2 separate regions of the Homo sapiens genome follow, and region 1 is linked to region 2. Evidence: promoter capture Hi-C in 16 types of primary human blood cells and fetal thymus (Javierre and others, 2016). All regions are on one chromosome and are shown on one strand. Each heading gives the region's core, a stretch centred on a gene start or on the middle of the fragment in contact. The rest is flanking DNA. Distances are from core to core; before and after follow the strand shown. Region 1 overlaps SOS2 (SOS Ras/Rho guanine nucleotide exchange factor 2). Region 2 holds the start of TXNDC16 (thioredoxin domain containing 16).

What was found. The method cuts DNA at HindIII sites, captures the fragments that hold promoters and counts their contacts. A CHiCAGO score of 5 or more calls a contact.
Region 1: a fragment that was not itself captured here is called in contact with the fragment with the promoter of TXNDC16 in region 2 in 1 of 17 cell types (neutrophils); the score reaches 7.3 in neutrophils.

The regions. Positions count from the first base shown.
Region 1 is chr14:50,221,847-50,227,481 of GRCh38, reverse strand. All of the region lies in intron 1 of SOS2 (SOS Ras/Rho guanine nucleotide exchange factor 2), which reads left to right. Among named protein-coding and RNA genes, the nearest start is that of SOS2, 6.9 kb to the left of the region's middle. RefSeq lists an enhancer at 1,148-1,674. The HindIII fragment of the contact is 1,630 bases long and covers 1,377-3,006 here.
Region 2 is chr14:52,551,255-52,557,105 of GRCh38, reverse strand. It overlaps TXNDC16 (thioredoxin domain containing 16), which reads left to right and starts at 4,601. Exons shown (of 21, transcript NM_020784.3): 1 at 4,601-4,790. GPR137C (G protein-coupled receptor 137C) reads right to left here and starts at 4,270. Exons shown (of 7, transcript NM_001099652.2): 1 at 3,515-4,270. The coding sequence starts at 3,958. RefSeq lists silencers at 3,801-4,000, 4,011-4,080. The HindIII fragment of the contact is 4,024 bases long and covers 3,024-5,851 here.

The DNA.
Region 1 (5,635 bases), core at 942-3,441, 2.3 Mb after region 2:
GAGATCGCGCCACTGCACTCCAGCATGGGCGATGGAGTAAGACTCTGTCTCAAAAAAAAAAAATACCAAAATTAGCCAAGTGTGGTGGTGCATGCCTGTGATCCCAGCTACTCGGGAGGCTGAGGCAGAGAATCTCTTGAACATGGGAGGCAGAGGTTAGAGTGGGCTGAGATCGCACCACTGCACTCCAGCCTGGGCGACAGAGCGAGACTCTGTCTCAAAAAAAAAAAAAAAGAAAGAAAGAAAGAAAAAGAAACACAGAGATAGACAAATAGGTTTATGGAAAAATAATTTTGGGAATAGAAATGTGGTGTTCTTTAGCTTTTTGCTTGTTCTTAAACTTTTAAAATAGAACCTCACCTAGATCATTTAAAAACAGAGAGCTACAAAGCAGAGTGAAATGACACTACTAATGGATAATGCATGGATTGTTAACATTACTGCTAAATTATGTATCTTCCCTAAAAGAGCCTAGAACATAATTGCCTTCACCACTGCTCCCCAAGATCATTGAAGCTATTGTGTTACTTGGGGAAAAAAGAGCATGGTGTATATTTGTAAATGCAGTTTATTACCTGTGTCGTTGAAATCCCTTGGTACTATATGCATGTGTTATTTGATTATATGTTGAGATAAATCAGCATTCTTCATATGGGAAATATGCCTCAAAATCATTTTATCAGATTTTACAGTCCCTGATATTTATTTTGTAGATGTCTTTTCTGTAAGGTGTTTTTCACCAGGCTAGCCATAGAAAAGAACATGGCTGTTTTCTTGCCAGCTGTAGTTAAAAATGTCAGAGAAAGCTAGAAAGAATTGGTTGAATTACTTTGTTCCTGAGTCCAATTAGATTCAGGTTAAATATCGACCTCCCCACCCTGTGACAATTTGCTCTTAGATATCTAAAAGGCAAGAGGTGTGAGAGAATGTCTGGGTTAATTAATAGCAGTCTACGGCAAGGAAAAAGATCGGTAGGGGCTTTGATTTAAAAATGGTTTTGTGAAGTTCTACTGAGATCCTAGTGTTTCTGCGTTTGTACAAATGTCTCTTGGAAGTTTGTTTTAGAAGATGGCACTGGATCTTTCCTGAGGCCCACAAGAAAAGTACAGGGTGATCTGAGAAAATATAACTGGTGTCATTGATATATGAGAGTCAAAGAAGACTTTAAGCAAGCAACATTTGTGCTTCTTTCTGGATTATATATTCAAATATAGTAATATTACTGTCTCCAGGCTGGTCTTGAACTCCTGGGCTCAAGCGATCCTCCCACCTTGGCCTCCAAAAATGCTGGGATTACAGGTGTAAGCTACGTCGCCTGGCTGCAGACACTGTTCTTGATACGGAAGATGTAGCAGAGCCCCTGCTGTTATAAAGCTTGTGTTCTAAGTGGCTGTGGCAGAGAGACAGACAATAAGGAAGTAAACAATTATCTGAAAGATCAGTAGAATTAACAAGAAAAAAAAAGGGCGGGGGGGAAGGATTTGAGGCTGAGGGGAAAGTAAGAACATGATTTGTTTGTTTGTTTGTTTTGAATAGGTCTCAGATTCTGAATTTAATGACTTATTTTAAAAAACAAGAAGAATAAGTGGATGAAGCTAGTATGGTAGACTGTAGGTACACTGAGTTAAGGTCTCTGCCTGAGAATAGGAAGTCCTGTTGGGTTCTCATTTACATAGCAAAGTAATTAGATTAACTTGATCAGAATTGCTTTTTGAAAAGATTACTTCAAGTCAAAGCCAAAAACTAATAAGAGATCCTGTGATTTTTGTGACATGAGCCTGTTCTGGAATTCCTAAAGCCGCTGAATGTAACAGTAGAACTCGAGGGAGTCATTTGGAATTATTCCAAACTAATAATGACCCAAACTGACCCGAAGAGTTCAGCCAGAACTAGATGAGCGGTAGGAATGTACTTTAACTTGCTGTACTTGGCTCCCTGTCAGCAATGATTAAGTAGCCTTCTATTTTTGGTTTAATTTTGGTATGGTATATTTGGAGCAATAATATTCCATTAAAGTGTTTTATGCTGAGTATTCAAAGCATTACCTGTGTTACCCCTTGACATAAATCAACTATATGTCTTTTGTATTAACCATGGACTCTCTTTCAAGGGAACAGTAATTTGATTATATCCTGCATATTTGAATCAAAAGGAATTTTAATGTAACTAGTGGATTTAGCATTATCTCATGTTAAAAATTAACAACCAAAAATTATTTTCTTCCATGGGCCAGGTGCAGTAGCTCATGCCTGTAATCCTAGTACTTTGGGAGGCTGAGATGGGAGGATTGCTTGAGGCCAGGAGTTCAAGACCAACCTGGCCAACATAGCGAGACCCCATGTCCATAAAAAATTATTTTCTTCTTTTACATAAGAATATATGCTAGTACAAAGTTTTTTCAAATGGATAAAGTATTACACATTCACATTTTAACATGTAGAAGTGAAGCAACAAGATGAAAATAATACCAAGATCTAGATATAAGGACTAGTATTAGCTCTTCTAAGTAAAGTTTTCTGTACTCCAGTTTTCTTCCTCATTAGGTCATTTTGTAAACTCAAACACTATTTCTCTCTCTCTCTCTTTTTTTTTTTTTTTGACAGGGTTTTGCTCTGCTACGCAGGCTGGAGTACAGTGGCATGATCATAGCTCACTGCAGCCTCCAACTCCTGGGCTCAAATGATCCTCCCACTATAGCCTCCTGAGTAGCTGGGACTACAGGCATGTGCCACTACACCCAGCTAATTTTCTTATTTTTTTTGTGGAGACAAGGTCTTGCTATGTCCTCTGGCTGGTCTCAAATTCCTGGACTCAAGTGATCCTCCAGCCTTGGCCTCCCAAAGTTCTGGGATTACAGGAGTGAGCCACCTGCCTGCCAAAAACTACTTCTTACATACAAAGTATATTATAGTTCTTTCTTAACTGACCTATTAGCAGCATTTGACAGTTGATCTCTTCTTTTTTTGAAATCCTTTCTTCATTTGGCTTCCAGAAGAATATCAAGCTTTCAGGGATTTTTTTTCTCTGAATATTCCTTCTAGTTTCCCTTCCCTTGATTCCTCCTCATCTTTCTGTGACCACATCCTTCTGACCTCCCCAGAGCCCATTTATATATATGTGTGTGTGTGTGTGTGTGTGTGTGTGTGTGTGTGTGTGTGTGTGTGTGTATATATATATTTTTTTTTTTTCCTGAGACGGAGTCTTGCTCTGTCACCCAGGCTGGAGTGCAGTGGTGCGATCTTGGCTCACTGCAACCTCTGCCTCCCAGGCTCAACCAGTTCTCCTGTCTCAGCCTCCCGAGTAGCTGGGATTACAGGCGCGCACCACCACGTCTGGTTAATTTTTTTTTTTTTATATTTTTAGTAGAAATGGGGTTTCACCATGTTGGCCAGGCTGGCCTTGAACTCCTGACCTTGTGATCTGCCCGCCTCGGCCCCCCAAGTGTTGGGATTACAGGCGTGAGCCACTGCGCCTGGCCAATTTTTAGACTTCTATTTCTATTAACACATCCTCCTTTGGAGATGCCATCCTGCCTCATTGCTTCACGTATAATCTAAATCTGATAATTACCAAATTTACATTTCTGGCTCAGACCTCTTTCTTAAACATGAATGTTCAACTCTTTTTTTGAGACAGGGTCGCACTCTGTCACCCAGGATGGAGTGCAGTGGCAAGATCACAGCTCACTATAGCCTTAACCTCCTGGGCTCAATGATCCTCCCACCTCACCCCCCTGCCGCCCCCATATAGCTGGGACTACAGGTGTGTGCCACCACACCCAGCTAATTTTTTGTTTGTTTGTTTGTTTTAGATGGAGTCTCGCTTTTTTGCCAGGCTGGGGTGTAGTGGTGCAATCTTGGCTCACTGCAACCTCCACCTCTCAGGTTCAAGTGATTCTCCTGCCTCAGCCTCCCGAGTAGCTGGGACTACAGGCGTGTGCCACCACGCCCAGGTAATTTTTTTGTATTTTTAGTAGAGACGGGGTTTCACCATGTTGGCCAGGATGGTCTCAATCTGTTGACCTCGTCACCTGCCCGCCCCGGCCTCCCAAAGTACTGGGATTACAGGGATGAGCCACCACGCCCAGCCCCAATTTTTAAAAAACTTTTTGTAGAGACAGGGTCTTACTGTGTTGCATAAACTGGTCTCCAACTCCTGGGCCCAAGCATTCCTCCTGCCTCAGCCTCCAAAGTGTTTGAGTTACAGGCATGAAGCACCACACCCGGCCAACTTTTTACTTGATATTTCCACAGAGGCATCTCAACCAACACTGTATCCTTTTCTTCCCCTGCAAACTTGTTTCTTTTGTAGTGGTTAACATATCAATAAATGGCTACTCCATCCTTCCGGTTGCTCAAACTAAAAATCTTAAGTTATTCTTGAATATTGTCTTTTTTTATACCACACATCTAATTTGTCAGCACATCCTTTTAGCTCTACCTCAAACTATATATTTAGTTACCGTTTTATACTTTTTGACTTTTACCACCTGGAACCAAGTCATCATCACCAATCTCCTGGAATATTGAAATATCTTTTCAACTGGTCTCTGATCATCTGCTCTTGTCCTATTTAGTTTCTTTTTCTCCCCAAACACAAAGAGATAAGTGAGATCATTTCACTCCTTTGTTCAAAACCCTCTCAGTGCTTCTCAGAATAAAAGTCAAAAAAGTCCTCCCAAAGGTTTACTAGGCCCTCTGCAGTCTAGGGCTGCCCCACCTCCCGCTTTTACCTCTCTGACCTCTTTAATATTGTCCCTTGTTTGTTCTGCTTCTGCCCCATACTGGCTTTCTTGTTTCTATAACGTAGACATGTTTTAGTCTTAGGACTTTTGTACTTGCTGAATTTTCTACCTGAAACACCCTTCCCTCAGATAATCACGTGGCTGGCCCTTTTACCTCCTTTAGGTCTTTATAGTCAGACATCATTTTCTTGGAGAGATTTTCTCTTACAGCCTATCTAAAACTGCTACATCCTCCTGCTTCCCAGACAGTCCCACATCAGTGTTCACAGTATTTTTTCCCATAAACCTGTATCTCCAATATAAATGATGTATCCAGTTCTCAAGCCAGAAACCTAGTCATCATTCTTCCCCTCTTTCTCATGCCAGGCTAACATGTATTCATCACTGAATCTACTTGATTCTTTCTCCTAAATTAGGAGTTTTCTAACTTTTTTTGCTGTGTATCCCCAAAAGAATTTTGAAAAACTTGCACATTTTTATGCTGACATCTAGAAATTTTCATTTTACATTTAAATAGTTGCAGTAGATGTAATTTCATATGTGTTATAAATACTGATGTTTTAAGGTAAAACAGTTGCATCAGTCTTTTAAATGTGCTGAATGGAATTTAAATACCAAAATAATTTGATATCCACCATCATTTTTTAAAAATACACATGAAAAGTGTGTCTTTAAAAGTTGGAAATTTTACATTGTCCTTTTTTTCTCTGTGAACTTTTTTCATTATATTTCCCCTGCATAATTCTAATATGATATTTTTAGATTTAAGTCTTTAATCGCACTTTTTTATTTATACTCCTTACAACAACAAAAAAGTCTACATATTGAATTTAAAAGGATTTTCCCTACAACCGTAAAGCTTTAAAACCTGTCTTTTGAACTGAATTATTA
Region 2 (5,851 bases), core at 3,352-5,851:
ATCAAAGAACAGAACAAAATCAAATGAACCTGTAAGTTGACTTGCATGTTATTTGAAGTATTACCAATATAAGAATATATCTACTGGTAGGGACAATAATAGCATCCATAAATGTAAGAGTTAAGATTTTGAATTTAATTTTCCTATCTGTTTTGGCATTGTAATTAAGTCACTGTACTTTATCCTGATTAAGCAACTGGCACTCCTAAGACCAAACTGAAAGTAAGAACTTCAATATGTTGAAGATGAACTCATTGATTTTGGCATGCATCACAACACTCCAAGATGGTATACCATCAACTCTCATTAAAAAAAAAAATTTAGATTCAGGAGGTTCATGTGCAGGTTTCTTACATGGATATATTGTGTGATGCTGTCAATTCTCCTTTTAAGTCCTTCAATATGTTCTAATGGTAGATAGAATCAGTTTTATCAGATAGTCTGTTTCAAATATTGAAGTCTTCTCCGGTAAAACTCCAGGAGTGTGAACCCTTCTCTGGAAAAGCTCTTGTCCTACTGATCCTGCCAGAAGTTCAAAATGTGTTTTTAGATTAGTGTACAAGGTGGCTTTTCTTTTTTTTTTCCCCCTCTCTCTCAACTATAGGCTTCCAGGAGGTTAAGTATGAGACACTGAGAAGCTTAACTGTTTAAGAAAGGGCTACTTTCCCTCATCTCAATTCCATTCAAGTGTAGACACCAAGAAAAAAAAAAAAAGAAAAAAGGGGTTGAGGCATTTCTTAACTTTTCAAAAACATGAGTTTTAGAATATCCACCAAAATGTATTCAAAGTAGTAGAGTTTGTTTTACTTTTTATACTGATCCACGATTCTTTATAACTAAGTCCTTAAAGCTACTCTTAGTGAGAATCAGAAAAAAACAAATGCTTTAAACAAGTGAAAAGTAATATGGAATTGGTATTTAATACGGCATACAGCAAAGACAGAGTGAGTTGGTAATCAAGACACACGACTATTCAAAAAAGTTATAGGGGCTTTTGGTTAAAAAAATTAAACATCAGTTAAGTCTTATATTTATCACCACATAGGCTTTCCCTACCACTTTGCTATAATATGAAGAACTCACTAGGAAAAACTTCATTAATTCAGAATGATCAATGGGAAGTATACTTGCAGTTATCTGGAACTGACATAAAAATTTGAACTAAAATACTCTCTTAAATACAGGTTCCTGGAGATTTTCTCTAATGAAAAGAGAAATGATTTCTGGTTAAGATATCTCCTTTCAAACAGGCTTTCAAAAAATTGACAATTTGTTCTCTTAAGTACAACTGTGTCCTAAAATTGTTAATTTCATTATAAAAAGAAAGGATAGACAAACAACTCACACTCTTTTTAGCAGGCATTACAAAGGAAAAAAGCTTTATCCCAGCTTCTTTCCAAATTGTATTTTTCAGGTTAATAGAGTTTTATCGTTTTTAAAAAAGCATATTACACAAACATTTAACAGGAAGACTTTCAGATTTTAAATTCTTCCTCACTAGCTTGGAATATTAGCTCAAAGTCTGAAGACCCAATCTAGATACTCCGTGTATTCTATGCTATATAAGCATACCTTCAGAATTTTGAGCTTAAATATATCTCCTTTTTTGGATAGTGTTTACCCACTTTGTGCTTACCTGGGGGAGCTACTGACTGGGAGAGGGTAAAAAGGGAAACTTCTGGGACACGGAAAATGCTTTATATCTTAATCTGGGTGGTGGTAACATGGGTGTATACAGATATAAAATTTCATCTAGGTGTGCATTTAAGATTGTGGACTTTATTGTATATGTTATACCTCAAGAAGTAAAAAGAGTGTTTACCCACTTTATGAAATGCCTACCAACTATTTTACAGTGAATCATTCATATTATTTTGTAAATCAAAATATATAGGGAAAAAACAAGTCATCTGATGCCCCTGGCATAAAAATCGCTAGTCACTTTCAGGTAAACATCTGAACCTGGAGTAAAAGCTTCAGCGTTGAGAAGTCACTAACGCACTATCTGAAATGGTGGCAGGAAGATTACAATGTATCAGTTTAAGTATAAAGGGTAGAAGTGTTATAACAGCTTAAACGACAACTAGATTAGAACACCCTCAAATAAGTGACACGACTATGGCATCATTTGATTTGTGATAACCTATGCTTCTTATTTCCGCTTACTGGTTTGCGTTTTTGTCATTGTATTGTTTGGACTTTCAAAGGATGGAGAAGGAAAATAATAAAAGTTAAATTAGTTTTGTTGTTTTCAACTATTGTTTTTAGTGTGCTAAATAGCTGACATTATGACTGATTATAAAATTATGCATTCTACTTCCTATTAAAGGAGAAAAGAGTTGGTTTATGCAGGAAATATAAACACTTAATATACGTCATTTTTTTTTTTTTTACTTTTGCTTGGAACTACATTAATTCCATCACCTCCAAAAAAGCCTTTGAGAGGATTAGCTGCATAGGCCAATATTATTCTATATTAGTCTGTATTAAGCATATGATGTCACCTTGCTTCCTCCCCTCCTCAAGCTTTTCTTTTGGTGGGAAGGAGGACTTTTTTGGGGGAAAGTCTTAAAATATTATGGCTTAAATACCACAAGCTGACACACATGATTGACAACCTTACACTCCCAAACCTGTTTGAAATGGGTCAAATACCTAAGCGCTGCAGAACAATGCAATCCAACCAGCAATTCCCCATAAAAGAGAAAGGGGGTGTGATTAGGTTCCAGATATTAAGCAAGTTATTGCAAAAACAGTTTGGTGGTTTTGTTTCTGCAATAGGCACAGGTTAAGCTAGTATTTTTTTCTCTTAATTAGCTCCAAAAAAGACTATGCTAATAGGAGGTAGGATAAACCGCTAAAGCACGAAGCAACTGGGGCAAACATTAAGGGCTTTATGGAGGTCCTTATCCTGATCCTCAGCATTGGTTATTGATCATCAACCCTGCTGGGGAACTATCGAACGAAATTTATGTGAGGCTTATCGAGCCACAGGAAAGGAGATGCAGGAGGGAATATAAGCTTCTAATAAAAGAAACGCAGCAACAATAGCAGAGGAACAGCTCTGCCTGGTGACGTAATGGCTGGCAGCAGTCCAGCTTCAGCAGAGCTGCTGCTACCTCAGCATCCAACCTCCCTCAACACAGTCCGGCTTCGGCAGAGCCACCGGGGCTGCTACTTCTTGCGATGCCACTTTGTTGGTGCCACCAACGCCTTACCTCGGAGGGCCAGAACACCGAACAAAGGGTTCGTTCCGTTGCTGTTTTAAGTTGTCAGACACACACACTCACTCACTCACCCCCTAGCCCGAACCCCTCAGTAATCAAGCCAATCAGCCACTTAAGTTTAAGGCGAAAACACTGGCTCACACTCCAGGTGTGCCTCAGTTTCCCCAGGCTGGTTTCCAGTCCGCCTCTCGCTGCCCACCCCCCGCCCCCGCTGGTCCTCAGCGGGAGTTGATCCCGGCGGCCCCGCGCACCCGCCCGGGCCCCGCATGCCGGCCCTCCCGCCTTACCTCCGCCAGGTAGAGGTTGAGGAGACAGAGCGTGGAGAACTGGAGACAGGAGGGGAAGCAGTAGAGCAGCCAGTGGGGGAAGAAGTGCAGGTGAGCGGGCGGCCGGAGCAAGGGCAGGGAGCCGCTGAGCGAGAAGGCGGCGGAGAAGAGGGTGGTCCTGAGCGCTGCCCACAGGAGACAGAGGAAGAGGCAGAGGCTCTGGTAACTCAGCCGCCGCTCGCGGTACAGGAGCAGCCGCCACAGCTGCAGGTAGGCAAAGGCGAACAGCGCGGCGTAGAGCAGGGCGTGCAGGACGCTCAGCGCCAACTGCACGGAGCCCGGCACCGCGGCGCCTGAGGCTGCAGCGACGGCGCCTCCGCCTCCGCTGCCCCCGCCGGGCGTGGAGGGCTCGCGGCCGGCTGCGGGGGCGGCAGCGGCCGCCGGACCCGGCACGGACACCCTCATGAGGGGGCTGGGGGCCGGGCGAGCGAGCGCGGGAAGGAAGGGGCTGGACTCGGAGCCGCCGTCGAAGGGGAGAAGGACTGCCCCCTTACCCCCCACCCACCCCAGCCTCTAACCCCAGGAAGCGCCGTGACGGGACCCGGAGTCCAGCGCAAAGCAGCCGCGGCTCCCCCGGACCCCGCCTCCTCTTTCCCCCCACCCCCCGGGGGTCTCGGCTCCTCCTGCTGCGGCTCGGCTCCGTAGCTGCAAAAAACAACTCTCGGCTGGAGACAATCAGCTGAGAAACCCGAGCATTTGAGGCGCTCGCTCCGCACTGTGGGCTCGCGCCGATTGGCCCAGGCAGGCACGCCCCCTGAGCGCCGCGCTCGGAAGGCCACGGGCCGCAGGACCCGTCGCTCGAGGGCCCCGAGATCTGATTGGGCGCGTAATTTCCCTACTTTCTCCCGCCCCTGTACTTCCCACCCACGCTGCTGATTGGCCCTGCTACTGCACCGCCCGTTCGCGCCGGCGGGAGGACTCTGTAATCGTCTGTCACTCTCGCTCCGCCCACCACGTTTCCCATTGGTTAGAGAGTGCCTCGCGTAGGGAGCACGAGGAGAAGGAGGAGCTTCGCAGGTTGTTTTTTCCCAGGAGGCCGACTCCGCCGAGTCGGTGGCGGCTGCAGGCTGGGAGGGAGAAGTGCTACGCCTTTGCAGGTTGGCGAAGTGGTTCCAGGCTACCCGGCTAGTCTGGCACGGCCCCGTCTTCTGCCTCCTCCTCCGTCGCGTGGCGGCGGGAACTGTTGGCCGCGCGGCCTCGGGAACGGCCCAGGTCCCCGCCCGCAGGTCCCGGGCAGGTAGGTGACAGCGCTGGCCCTTCAGGCTGTGGGCTCTGCCTGCAGACCCGGGGATTCAGACGAAGCAGCTTTCTGTAGCCAGGGCTGCACTGCACAGCTCCGGAGTCTGACTTAAGACACCCGTCTCTGGGGCACCGAAGGGCCTCACCTGGAGCCTCCTGAGGGCATTTTGCTTTCTCTTTTCGCTGCATGAACGGCGGGAAACACCGGAGCCCTTTGTGGGTCGAGGGGATGGAAAGGGGCGACGGGGAGAATCGGAGCTCTTAAGTGAAAGACCCTTTCCTCCCAAGGCCAAGGGAAATGTCTCTTAAGGAAGAGTAGTAGTAGTATCAGATGGATGTTGAAGCGATCTGTGAGCAGGGGGAAGCTGGTTCTTTCAAACGTAGAATTTGGGAAGATGCTCTGGGCTTAAGTTTTGGGAAAAAGGCAGAAACAGACTTGTAAGTATGATGATTGCCTGGAGAGGAAGTAGAATATTCTGTACTGTTTAAATTCCACATGTATCGAAGCCTTGGACCTGTGTATGGTAGATGGTGGCGCTATTCCTGGGCCTGAGAGAGAAAATACATGCTGTGTTACTGCTGTGAAGAACCGAGGAATAATCAGATCGACTAACGTATATTGGGCCGGCACATAGTTGTTGACTTTTTTTTTTCCTATTTGGAAATAAGATTAGCAAGTAGTGCAAAATTAAAAGGAAATAATTTGTTTTCTTTAGAATACACAGCACATTACGAATTCAGTATCCTTGTGAAAGACATTGCTACGTTTATTGGAGCAACAAAGACCCAGCTTTTCTTACCTCACCATCCTTTGTCCTATGCTTTTTTTTTTTTTTTTCCTTTTTTTCATGCAGGGTCTCGCTCTGTCGCCCAGGCTGTAGTGACAGTTCACTACAAACCTCCACCTCCTGGGCACAAGCAGTCCTCCCACCTCAGCCTCCCAAGTAGCTGGGACTACAGGCACTGGAGCCACCATGCCCGGCTGATTTTTTTTTTTTTTTTGGTAGAGACGAGGTTTCACTATATTGTCCAGGCTGGCCTTTGTCATATGCTTTGCCC